Linked DNA regions of Homo sapiens: regions 2 and 3 are each linked to region 1. The links are contacts of gene promoters, found by promoter capture Hi-C in human tissues and cell types (Jung and others, 2019). All regions are on one chromosome and are shown on one strand. Each heading gives the region's core, a stretch centred on a gene start or on the middle of the fragment in contact. The rest is flanking DNA. Distances are from core to core; before and after follow the strand shown.

Region 1 (4,019 bases), core at 1,520-4,019:
CCGTGTTAGCCAGCCTGGTCTCAATCTCCTGACCTCGTGATCTGCCCGCCTCAGCCTCCCAAAATGCTGGGATTACAGGCATGAGCCTCCGTGCCCAGCCATATGAAATTTTATTACCTATTTGGAAATAATATTCTGAACCTTAATAGCAAATCTTAGTTACATAAAATATTTCAAAAGTACTTTACATGGTAACTCAAACCAAACTGAGTAACTCAGTGATTATTCTTGTTAATCTGATCCAAATAGAATAATCAAGTATAAATCTGATTTAATTTCATCTTTAAAAAAACCGATTTTAGAATGGTGACATTATCTTAAACCACAATTTCAAATAGTTGTGCCTATTACCTCACATTATCAAATTAAAAAAACAAAAGCAGAGTAGCATTACAAAAGATTCCACTGTGCTTCAGAATTAACATCTGTTACTTCCCATTAATCTCAGGTGGTAGTTTCTAGTCTAAAAACAAACCAACACAATACTTGGTGGATAAATAATACCTACGACATAACATTCCGTTTTCTCTTGGTCCTGCTTTAAGAAACAAATACAAGAGGCTGGGCGCGGTGGCTCACACCTGTAATCCCAGCACTTTGGGAGGCCGAGGCAGGCGGATCACGAGGTCAGGATATCGAGACCATCCTGGCTAACACAGTGAAACCCCGTCTCTACTAAAAAGAACCCGGGAGGCGGGGCCTGCAGTGAGCCAAGATGGCGCCACCGCACTCCAGCCTGGGCAACAGAGCAAGACTCCGTCTCCAAAAGAAAAAAAAAAAAAAGAAAAAGAAAAAAGAAACAAATACAAGAAAATCAACCAGAAAACATATTCCACTGTTAAAGGCTTTAACAAGTCAGCCCCAGCAAACTTTGAAGACAAGAAAGCAAACCCCTGTGTTATCTATTCTCCAAGAGTAGAACAATGACTTTGGCTTCCCACTGTGCCTTAAATCTGGGCACTGGTGCCTTTACATGCCAAAATATGTAAGGTGATTTTAATAGACGTGCTGAAAGAGAAATTCCATAAACAAAATGGGGTCGTTAAAAGCAAATTACTGTCCCCTACCACTTCAAAGCAGCTACACCACCTGAGGGTGAGGCAGCTCAAAGGTACCAAGCTGGGCTGACTTCAAGTAATTTGATTGCATCTGAAAAGTTTTGTTTCCTTTATCAAACTTCATTTTGATCTTAAAAGATTGATTCACAAACCATTAAAAGGAAACATAAATTGTACTACATAAAAAAATTAAAACAGCAAAAAAAAAAATTGCAAAATTAGAATACAAGCCCTGAACGAGATCGGTTGTATGATAGTTACTTTCTTTAATTTAGAGCTTATAGAAATCAAAATTAAAAGATTAAACAGGAAAAATAAAAATTTTAAAACTCTGAGGGGCAAGGCATATGAAGGCAGTTATTCAAGGAAATACAATCAAAACAGCAATGGTTTTCACAAATGAGTACTTCCAACAATGTTAAGTCTAATGCTCAGGCGGGCTGGTTGATAGGGAAACAGGCACTCTGAAGAATGGAGAGTCCAAACTTGTACAACCTTTTTTTTCTTTAGAGCAATTTGGCAGTAACTGTCCATTTTAAGCACATTTCTGTCGACCCAGCAATCCTACCTCGAAGAATTTATCCCTAGTACACAAGTAAAAGTATGAACGCGTCTGCTGCCAACACTGATGCAATAAAGGAGCACCGCTATGTGTCAAGCACTTTTCTAAATTTAGCTGGAAAATATGGTGTGAACAAAGTCCTTGTTCTCATCGACAAAGCAAAAGCCAAAAAACAGAAACAACCAAAAGGCGCTGGAAATAATCCAGTTCATTGCCATGACCTGATTAAATAAATAACACAGCCATATGGAATGTTACCTAACTTCCAAAGTAATTTGCTATGTTTGTACATGTTAATATGAGAAAAAGTCTTCAAAGATTTCACAGCATGATCCCATTTGTGCAATCGTAAAACAAGTTACTTCGTACTGACTCCAGGATTTTTTGCAGTTTTTAAAAACACTGCATTAACACTTCCAAATTCGAACTCCACCCACCCCCCATCCCGGTTCTAACAATCACACCAAACATCCACCAGTGATCAGCGAAGATGCTCTTCTGCTTTCTCCTTTCCAGAAAGGTTATCGTGCCCAGCAATAGCTCCCTAACCCACACACACCAAACCTCATGCTTATGTAAGCACTCGGCACCGGAGCGGAGAGTGAGAGCTCTCGCTTGGACTCCCGGCTCTTGCCGCAGATCCTGACCGCCTAGAGGGAGGAGTGGGATCACGCTTTCAGCCTCGCTTCCAAGTAAAAGAGTGGCCAACCTTTCTACGGAAAGGCGGGGGACGGGAGTACTACATAATAAAGATAAATGAGAGTCTCACAAAACCCAAGGGCAGGAATGAGAACCCAGGACACGAAGAAAACCCAACAAGCATCCGCCTCTGCTTCCCTCGCAGGGTGGCCCTCTCCCCGGGCCTTCCTGTGTGAGGCAAAGAAGGCTGGACAGGGCCGCTTCGCGCAGCCAGCTGCCGACACCCGGGCCGGGGAAGCCAGCTCATCTCATTCTTCGGGGAGGGAGACCTGGTGCGCTACCTCTCGGAGAAGCTTTTCACCAGCAGCCACACGATGAGCGGCAGGTTCTCGCGCTCGTTGTAGGTAGGTAAAAGCACCGAATATTTGTTCTGTCGTGGACTGCGCACTTCCAGCTCCCGCCGAGACCTGCGAGGACTACGACTGACTTCCAAGGAGGCCATGGCGGAACTGAGCCAGATGCCGGAAGCGGAATTACGTAATGTGGCGCGGAAAAGGACGGGTCGGACCGTACCAAATTCGGAAGCGGGGGATGACCTGTGTGATTGATCGCTAGTTCTTCTAGGGCCATTGCGTGGTTCAATTAGAAATATTCTGGATTTATACATCTTTGAAGTTTAATCTGAAGGTTTCTTCAGGAAGTAAATATCTATTCATCACCTTTTCCCAAGCTCCATAAAGTTTTTTAGTTTATCCCAGTCGCTAGGAGACAGAAGACGGAAGCGGAAATGCCTTTCACGACAACTTCCGGAAGAGGTCGCCATGGCTTCCCGGGAGGAGGTACTCGCCTTACAAGCTGAAGTTGCCCAACGTGAGGAGGAATTGAATTCGCTGAAGCAGAAGCTGGCGTCGGCTCTTTTGGCTGAGCAGGAACCGCAGCCAGAACGGCTGGTTCCGGTGTCGCCGCTGCCGCCGAAGGCCGCTCTGTCCCGAGATGAGATTCTGCGCTATAGCCGGCAGCTAGTGCTGCCCGAGCTGGGCGTGCACGGACAGCTGCGCCTGGGGACCGCGTGCGTGCTAATCGTGGGCTGCGGTGGGCTCGGCTGTCCACTAGCGCAGTACTTGGCAGCGGCCGGCGTGGGCCGCCTTGGCCTTGTGGACTATGACGTGGTAGAGATGAGCAACCTGGCCCGCCAAGTGCTGCATGGCGAGGCACTGGCTGGCCAGGCCAAGGCCTTTTCGGCCGCCGCCTCGCTGCGCCGCCTCAATTCGGCAGTGGAATGCGTGCCGTACACTCAGGCCCTTACGCCAGCCACTGCCCTAGACCTGGTCCGCCGATATGATGTGGTGGCTGACTGCTCGGACAACGTGCCCACTCGCTACCTGGTTAATGACGCATGTGTGCTGGCGGGTCGGCCCCTCGTGTCTGCCAGTGCCTTGCGCTTCGAGGGCCAAATCACAGTCTACCATTATGACGGTGGCCCTTGCTATCGCTGCATATTCCCCCAACCACCCCCAGCGGAGACAGTGACCAACTGCGCGGACGGCGGGGTGCTCGGTGTCGTTACCGGGGTCCTGGGCTGCCTGCAGGCCTTGGAAGTGCTGAAAATCGCTGCGGGTCTGGGCCCCTCTTACAGTGGCAGCTTGTTGCTCTTTGATGCCCTGAGAGGGCATTTCCGCTCTATTCGGCTGCGGAGCCGCAGGCTCGACTGTGCAGCTTGCGGGGAACGGCCCACTGTGACTGATCTGCTGGACTATGAA
Region 2 (3,811 bases), core at 1,049-3,548, 430 kb after region 1:
TTTGTTTTTAAACAGACTGAGTTAAACAGTGATGTTGGCTGTAAGTCAAGGCACTCACAAAAGCTGAGGGAAATGGATGTTTATGATCACAATTTTATAGGATGCTGCTTTTTCTTAAGCATTTAATTGGAATGCAGGAAAATACTTGCTATGCAATTGGCTGCTTTGGTTCCACGAAACGTAATGCCCTAGCCTCGAGCCTAGGAGACCCAAGGTTAAGATGCGCTGGGTCACCGAGCACCTTGCCTCCGGGAAACAAGTTCGGGAAAGGTTAGCCCAGCTTGTCAAGAACGTCACAACTCCATCCATGCCTCTTGTAAACTTGAAATGAAAACATTCTTTCAATTCTGAGCAATAGAAAGCACTTGGAAAGGTCTTTTTTTTTTTTTTTTTTTGACATGATAAATTCAGCCTCACTGTAGTCCAGAGTGAGAATTAGAACATACCAACTTCCAATCTGCCTAAATGTGACAGCCTCTGCCCAAGACTGGCTCACTGAGGCGTCTTGGCTACTGGATGTAAACAAAAAATGCAATATCCGTGCCTCCCAGTTCTTTGAAGGAATCAATTCATCCTTGGTTATATCTATGCTGGAAAACTGTGGGTGTCCTTTGGATAAAGCATACAGGAGTTATCTACCAGGATTTAGATTTGGTCCCTTCTGTAAATATTAGCCTGAACGTTGAGTTCTGTGAACATGAATTCTTTTCGAATTCCATTACAATGCAGGCAGGGTTTTGGTGTCAATTTTTTAAAATCAAAATCACCTACTAAATTAGTTATTTTGGGGGGAGGATCTAGACACTTGATGATTCTCAGTGACCAGATCCAGGCTCAGGGCTGAAGTCAGCATAATTCTTGAGCAAGAAAAAGGTGATTCCTTCTTCCACAAAGCCATTCCTTCTCCTGAGATGCCATCTTCTAGAGAGGTGACTAACAGGCTCTGAGTGGGGGTTTTATTATATGGGTTTTTGTTTCCTGGAATGAGTAACAAATGTTTCAAGAATACATCATTTCTCTTAAGAAAAAAAAATCAACCTATGTGTAAAAAGAGACACTTAAAAAGATTTCTGACCATTTATAAATATAAATCTAATTCCAACAGGGGTGTAATATTTTGAGGACAGGTAAAAAGCATAAAAATACAGGTAAGAAAATAAAATTTAATAACATACTAATCTGGATTGCTATACATATTATCAAGCAGCAGCATCTTTGTACAATACAGGAAGACTTGCAAACTTTGGAAATATACTACATTCAGCAACACGGTAGACCTGTCAGAGTGCTACATATTTACATTAACTTAGATGTAGCAGTGCAAACCTTCACTCAACTGAGATCCTTCTAACACACGTGCAACACACCCATCTTTACCATTTAGACACCCCTACTTTCTCATTCTCTTAGAGGATCTTATTGCCTCTTCCCGTACTGGAAATATTTCATGAGCCATCCTTCTTGGCAAAATTTCCTCCTAGCATTTGTAACTGACAAAACTTCCTTGATAGCTGTCAGTTCCTAATACACTTTCTCTTGCCTGTTTATGTCTCAAATCTAATGCTTTTGTTTCTCTTTCCTTTGCGATTTGTTACAGTTGTTTATGAAAGTGCTTCCTATAATATCCAGCTAAGATGTCTTAGAAAAACAGAGGGGTTTATTTGTGTGTGTATTACACACACACACGCGTACAGGAGGTTGAGCTACCAGGAGGCCGTTTTTGCTAACATAGTTAGAAAACTGATGGAAAATGCATTAGTCCTTTTTCACCCTGTGGACAAGGAAGCTGAGCTACTTTGCTACAATAGCAGGAAGGCACTTGGGTAAAACATTCAGATAACTGAGGAAAGCCCAAATTCCCTCATGTACAAAAAACAGCTCCTAGCCAGTCCTAGCCAGGTCGAGTGAGAACAAATCACTCACCACACACTCTTGGCTTTTCCCCAGTGAAGTCAATATTGCTGGAGAGAAAATTCTTTAGGTGAAGCTGCTAGTATAAGGAACTTATAATAAGGAACTTATTTTGTTCATGAGGAAGTATTTAGCATCCCAGAAGTTCCATGGTAGGGGTCAACCTCTTACTGGCATTCTGTTTATTTAAAAGAGAATTTTGCTAAACTCTTTGAGCTTAGGGTGGGTGAGGGAAAGGTCGTTCATTGTCAGGGAAAAATAAATGCTAGGTATCGACCGACAGGTTGCATACAAGTGCACAGGCCCGAATCTGAGCATTTTGCCTTCTATCTGGAGTGCCAAACACACCTGGCCCCACTCCCAGGAAGCTTTTACCTCTGGGTAACCTTGACGGGAGAGCCAGGACTTACAAAGCCCACAGTGGGCACTGAGTGGCCATGACTTTCTTCTGAGGCCTTCTGCCTACAGACTGTACAGACTGGACTGAGAAAACACTCTAAGTACAGTCTGAGTGCTAAGAATATTTTCACTTTGCTGCGGATTATTGAGGAAACAACTGAATGGCTGAAAAATGAATCCCCCGCTTGTCCTGGGGTATCTGCAGTACATGCAAACAGAAACAAACACATCTGCCAAGAACTTCAAGGGTTTTGTTTGTAAAAATCACAAAAATCACACCCACAGAGGAAGACTAGGGGAGACTGGGTGCGCTCAGTGGAAACAGTTGGGAGGAAGGAAATCACATATAACATGCAACCGAATAGAGCTCATTCAAAGTAAAGGATGCATTCGAGTAGATTTCTTCATGTTAGAATTTGAGTGCGGATAGGTCTTCAGGGGCAGAAGGGATCTTTAAATAGGTTCAGGTCAAATTAACCAGTGAAGCTGGGAAGCACATCCTGAGCTCGGCTGTCCCACTTAGAGGGAATTCAGCCCTTTTCCTCTATCTTGGTAGAAACCCACCTCCAGAAGCACTTGGGCTGTTTTACTTAACAAAAATACCCACACTTCTTTTCTTGGTTGCTTTAGCCCTTCTGCTATTCCTCAATTAAATGCACATGCTTGAGATTCTCCACCGCTTTACGGAAAAGCACTCTGGCTGCTAGGAAGAAAGCAAGCCGGAACCTTGCAAAGCATCCAGGTTGTACAGCTGCAGCAGACAGGTGCTTGCTCTCTGCAGCCTGGGTCAGCCCCCCAAGTCTATGGAAATTGTGTTAGCAGGACTGCGTGCTGCAGGGGTTAAAGAACAGCTCGCCAAGACAGCTCCAGGGCTAGGTGCCCTGGTCAGCCTTTTAAAGCAGAAAAAATAATAATAACAAACGCGTATACATGTCATAACTTAACGCCAAGAAGTCTTAACAGGTGATCTTGTCTGGGCAAGACAGTTTGGTTTTGGAATGAGAATTCAAAAATAAAGCTTTAGCTGTGGCCCAGTTGTGGCATGGACTGGGCGAGCTCTAAGGACTGACAGTTCAGTTTCTGTCTCTATCGAGGGTTTTGGGTTTCTTCAGCCTGTAAGCTGGGCTCTTGGGTCACGTTCCTTTGGTTGCTCTGAGAACTCCTTGCCTTCAAAAGGTACAGGAGCTGTATCTGTGACCTGGAAAAACGAACGCAAGGGCTGGGGTTTAATCACAGTGCCCACATCTTCTGTCCCCCGTCCATCCCCCCAAGCTCCAGTCACTCTGTTCTCAGGAGAGTTCCAGTGTCCTGTCTCATGTAGAATGTGCTTTTGGTCAGCAGGTGCTTACTATTTGGACGGAACACCATTAAGATCAACCAGGATGCTCTCTGGGATTTAAAACATAAACCGAAAAGAAGAGTTCTCTCTGGTGTTTAGAGGGAGGTGGCGAGCTCCTTAAGTGAGAGTCCGCTTAGTGCCCATACATTGATCCGCGTGTGG
Region 3 (4,160 bases), core at 1,281-3,780, 460 kb after region 1:
GCAGGAGGGAGGCCCCGCTGGCCTGGTCGGGAGCACCCTGGCCAGGCCAGGATGCAAACACTGCTGCTGTTTAGAGAGGGAAACCCTGGCCGGCTCACATGCCCGATTCCTGGGCGTCCCCGGCCACCTCATACTCTCTGCCAGCTGGGTCCACGGGGATGCTATCTTCGGGAGGAGCAGGGAGTTGGAACGCAGCCCTCAGAACAGGGGTGCATGCCAGCTGGGCTAGACGTTTGGCATGCAAAGGGGGTGCAATCTCATGGGTCTCCCTGCAAAAGGAGTACTTCTGTGTCCAAAACAAGCTGGTGCCAAGCACAACAGAACAACAAGGAGCACAGGAGAAGGAGAAGGAGAAGCACAGGATGAGGCCGCCGACCCCACCCCCGCCCCACCGACCCCGGCCCCCCCATCCCCCGCTCCCGCCGCCCCCCCCCCTCCCCGCCAAACACATGGAGCCGAGTACAGTGTCCTGCTCTCCAGGCAGCCAGCTCCCGGGTTTCACAATCCTTTCCATGGCACTCGGGTTTGCTGTCACAACAACTGCAGGATGACCCGGTGCTGGGCAGCACTGCTGGCTGGAGGTGAGAAATCGATTTTCTCACCGGCCCAGTGGCCAGCACATTTTTGAGGTCATGCCCCGGCCTGGCCTGTGGAGTCCCCCAAGCATCTGCCTCTGTCAATCCACTGTGCCCTCTGAGGCTGGACTGCATGGCACTAAGAGGGCCCTGGGTTCCAAAGCCATCCTGCTGAGAAGAGATAACAGCCTGATTCTAGGACCAGGACACAGTCTGTCTCCTCAGGGTTTATTCACTGGCAAATCTTGTTAGCAGATGCTAGAGGTTTTTATTTGCACTCCTGAACTCCCAAAGAAACATATGGCATCTTTTTTCAAAAAAACCTAAAGAGGCGGGGTGTGGCAGCTCATACTGTAATCCTAGCACTTTGGGAGGCTGAGCTGGGAGGACTGCTTCAGGCCAGGAGTTCAAGACCAGCCCGGGCAACATAGTGAAACCCTGTCTTTACAAAATTAAGAAAAAACAGCCAGGAGTGGTGGCACACGCCTATAGTCCAGCTACCCAGGAGGCTGAGGTGGGAGGATTGCTTGAGCCTAGGAGTTCAAGGCTGCAGTGAGCCATGGTGGCACCAGTGCACTCCAGCCTCGGTGACAGAGCAAGACCCTGTCCCCTCCAAAAATATTAAATAAAAATTTTAAAATTAAAAACAAAACTAAAGAACATGTACAAATGTACTCACTTGCTGTGGGACCTTGGACCAGTTACTTAACCTCCCTGGGCTACAGTTTCCTCATCTATAAAATGCCTCTGCGGCTGCCATGAGGGTTAAATGAGCTAATGCAGCAAAGTCTTAGAAGAATGTCTGGTAAACAGTAAACATCTAAGCATGAGCTGCTATTATCATTATTGTTCTTTTGTGACAAATAGTTTTAAATCATTTTAAACCCAGGCAGTCTCGGTTCTCAGTTTCATGCCTGGTTATTCATTCGATACCACAAATATTGGGTGAGCACCTTTTATGCAGGAAGCTGAGCCAGGTCTTTGAGCAAAGGGTGGACGTCAGCAAATGTTGTCAAGGGCTTCCCATGTGCAAAGCCAGCCCAGGGGCAGTCAGCAGTGCAGACAAGTCACAGCATTTGTCCTCACTACCCAGAGACTCGAGCAAGGGAGAAAAAATAAATAAATAAATAAATGGAAACACCTGAAAGAGACCATGTTCATTTCCAGGACTTCAAGGCAAGAGAGAAACCCTCCAGGTGCAGAGCAGAGACATTGTCAGAGCCTTGGAACGCTGGCCAGATTTCAAAAGTCACAGCAGAGAGCCAGGCATGGTGGCTCACGCCTGTAATCCCAGCACTTTGGGAGGCCGAGGTGGGCGGATCACCTGAGGTCAGGAGTTCGAGACCAGCCTGGCCAACATGGCAAAACTCCATCTCTACTAAAAATACAAAAATTAGCCAGGTGTGGTGGCACACACCTATAATCCCAGCTACTTGGGAGGCTGAGGCAGGAGAATCAACTGAACCCAGGAGGCAGAGGTTGCAGTGAGCAGAGATTGTGCCACTGCACTCCAGCCTGGGCAACAAAACAAGACTCTGTTAAAAAAAGAAAAAAAAAAAGTCACAGGAGAGCAGGATTTCCAGGCGGTGGTTAAGGCATGGGCAAAGGTTTGGAGGCAAGAAAGCCTCCGCACAGCCGCAGTCATCCTCCCCTCACAGCTGAGGGGTGGGCGAGGCTGATCATGCATACACACAGCCGGAAACACAGCCCCAACCAGAACAGAAAGGTTTCTGTTTCTAAATCCTCATTTTCACTCCAGCCTCTGGGGTCATTTCTAGGACCTGAAATCTGCCCCTTTCTTTTTAAAAATTCTCTCCTAGGGGCTGGGCATGGTTGCTAATGCCTGTAATCCCAGCACTTTGGGAGGCCAAAGTTGGTGGATTCCTTGAGCTCAGGAGTTTTGAGACCAGCCTGGGCAACATAGTGAGACCCCATCTCTACAAAAAATAACTAGCCAGGTGTGGTGGCACATGCTGGTAATCCCAGCTACTTGGGGAGCTGAGGTGGGAGGATCACTTGGGCCTGGGAGTTTGAGGCTGCAGTGAGCCATGATCCTACCATGGCACTCCAGCCTGAGTGACAGAGTAAGACCCTGTATCAAAAAAAAAAAAAAAAAATTCTAAAAACACAATCAGGAGAAAGTCTCCCTTCTACTCTTGCTCAGTATTTCCTTGTGTGTCTGCATCTTATTAACAGACATTTAGCCTGTTTCTAGTCTCCTGCTACTATAGACAAGGCTGGAGTCAACATCCCACACACCACACGCAGCAGGTATCTGGATGGACCCGGCTTCCTGAAGACAGATGAGGCTTATTGTGGTCCCTGAGTAGTTGGCCACCACCTGTCTCTGGGGATCCAGGAAAACCAAGAGCTCCTGAAGTCACCAAGCTTCATGCCAGAGAACACTGTGCAGGGCTGGGGACCAGTGACATGGAATCAACAGCCAGCCTGGCTCACAGCTGGGCCAGCACACCTCTAAAGATACATTTCTAGAAGTGGGATATTCTGGATTAAAAGATGTGTGCATTCTAAATTTGGGTTCATTTCACCAAATTGCCCTTCAAAAGAGGTTCTACCCATGCAGATGCCCACCAATAATGACTGAGAGGACATGTTTCACACCCTCTCACCAATACCGCACTTTATCAGCCTCCCTTCCTTCCATTCCTCCTCCTCCTTTCCCTTTCTTTCTTGCCAATGTTGTCAGTCTCACAGGAGGAAAAACTGACCCTGGTCTGGAACAATCCTGCACCAAATACAGATAATGATGTTCAGATAATAGGAAGTCCAGGGAAAAAGAAAACAGTAGGAGTTTAAAAATCCCAGAGATAGCTGCCAGGTGTGGTGACTCGTGCCTGTAATCCCAGCACTTTGGGAGGCCGAGGTGGGTGGATCACTTGATGTCAGGAGTTCAAGACCAGCCTGGCCAACAAAGCGAGACCCCGTCTCTACTAAAAATACAAAAATTATCCGGACATGGTGGCACACTCCTGTAATCCCAGCTACTCTGGAGACTGAGGCAGGAGAATCACTTGAACCCTGAAGGCAGAGGTTGCAGCGAACCGAGATCACACCGCTGCACTCCAGTCTGAGAGAGAGAGAGTGAGACTCTGTCTCAAAATAAAAAAATCCCAGAGATAGCTGAGGGAATTGGTTCTGAAATGGTCCAGAGAGAAAACAGAGGAACCAGACCAGGACCCTCAGGACTCAGAGGACCTGCCGGCTCTGCCTGGGTAGGGCACAGCACCCACCTGGGATTCCCAGGGTGCCAGCTCCTGGCTTCTCACTCTGTCTGGCTGAAGGGGCTGCTCCCTCAAACAGGAAGCCATGATGAAGGGGTTTCACATCTGTCTGGAATAAAGGGCCCGTTCAAATCTGGGAGAGGCTACGTGGGGGCCAAAAACTGGTGAGAAGATATTAAAGGAGGGTTGGCACATCCCAAGTGCAGAGATGAAGACATTTCTGCAGCCCTGGACAGATAAAGATGAGGCTAAGAAGATGATGAAGCTGATAGCTGCTCTCTATGGAGTGCTGTGTGGCTGACCTGGTTATACTCACTTCTCATACATCATTTCCTTTAAACCT

Evidence for each region. Contacts are between HindIII fragments. The study calls those that stand out against the background at their distance.
Region 2: a contact is called between a fragment that was not itself captured here and the fragment with the promoter of DPM1 in region 1, in 2 of the 25 tissues and cell types used here (lymphoblastoid cells and mesendoderm cells).
Region 3: a fragment that was not itself captured here is called in contact with the fragment with the promoter of DPM1 in region 1 in 1 of the 25 tissues and cell types used here (heart left ventricle).

The regions. Positions count from the first base shown.
Region 1 is chr20:50,955,763-50,959,781 of GRCh38, forward strand. It overlaps DPM1 (dolichyl-phosphate mannosyltransferase subunit 1, catalytic), which reads right to left and starts at 2,770. Exons shown (of 9, transcript NM_003859.3): 1 at 2,601-2,770. The coding sequence starts at 2,761. It overlaps MOCS3 (molybdenum cofactor synthesis 3), which reads left to right and starts at 3,056. Exons shown (of 1, transcript NM_014484.5): 1 at 3,056-4,019. The coding sequence starts at 3,081. RefSeq lists enhancers at 2,527-3,016, 3,229-3,839. The HindIII fragment of the contact is 10,279 bases long and covers 1-4,019 here.
Region 2 is chr20:51,387,483-51,391,293 of GRCh38, forward strand. It overlaps NFATC2 (nuclear factor of activated T cells 2), which reads right to left. Exons shown (of 11, transcript NM_012340.5): 11 at 1-3,811. The region is part of intron 2 of LOC105372663 (a long non-coding RNA gene); the gene reads left to right. Among named protein-coding and RNA genes, the nearest start is that of MIR3194, 64 kb to the right of the region's middle. The HindIII fragment of the contact is 4,969 bases long and covers 1-3,811 here.
Region 3 is chr20:51,412,572-51,416,731 of GRCh38, forward strand. The region is part of intron 9 of NFATC2 (nuclear factor of activated T cells 2); the gene reads right to left. Among named protein-coding and RNA genes, the nearest start is that of MIR3194, 38 kb to the right of the region's middle. The HindIII fragment of the contact is 3,363 bases long and covers 850-4,160 here.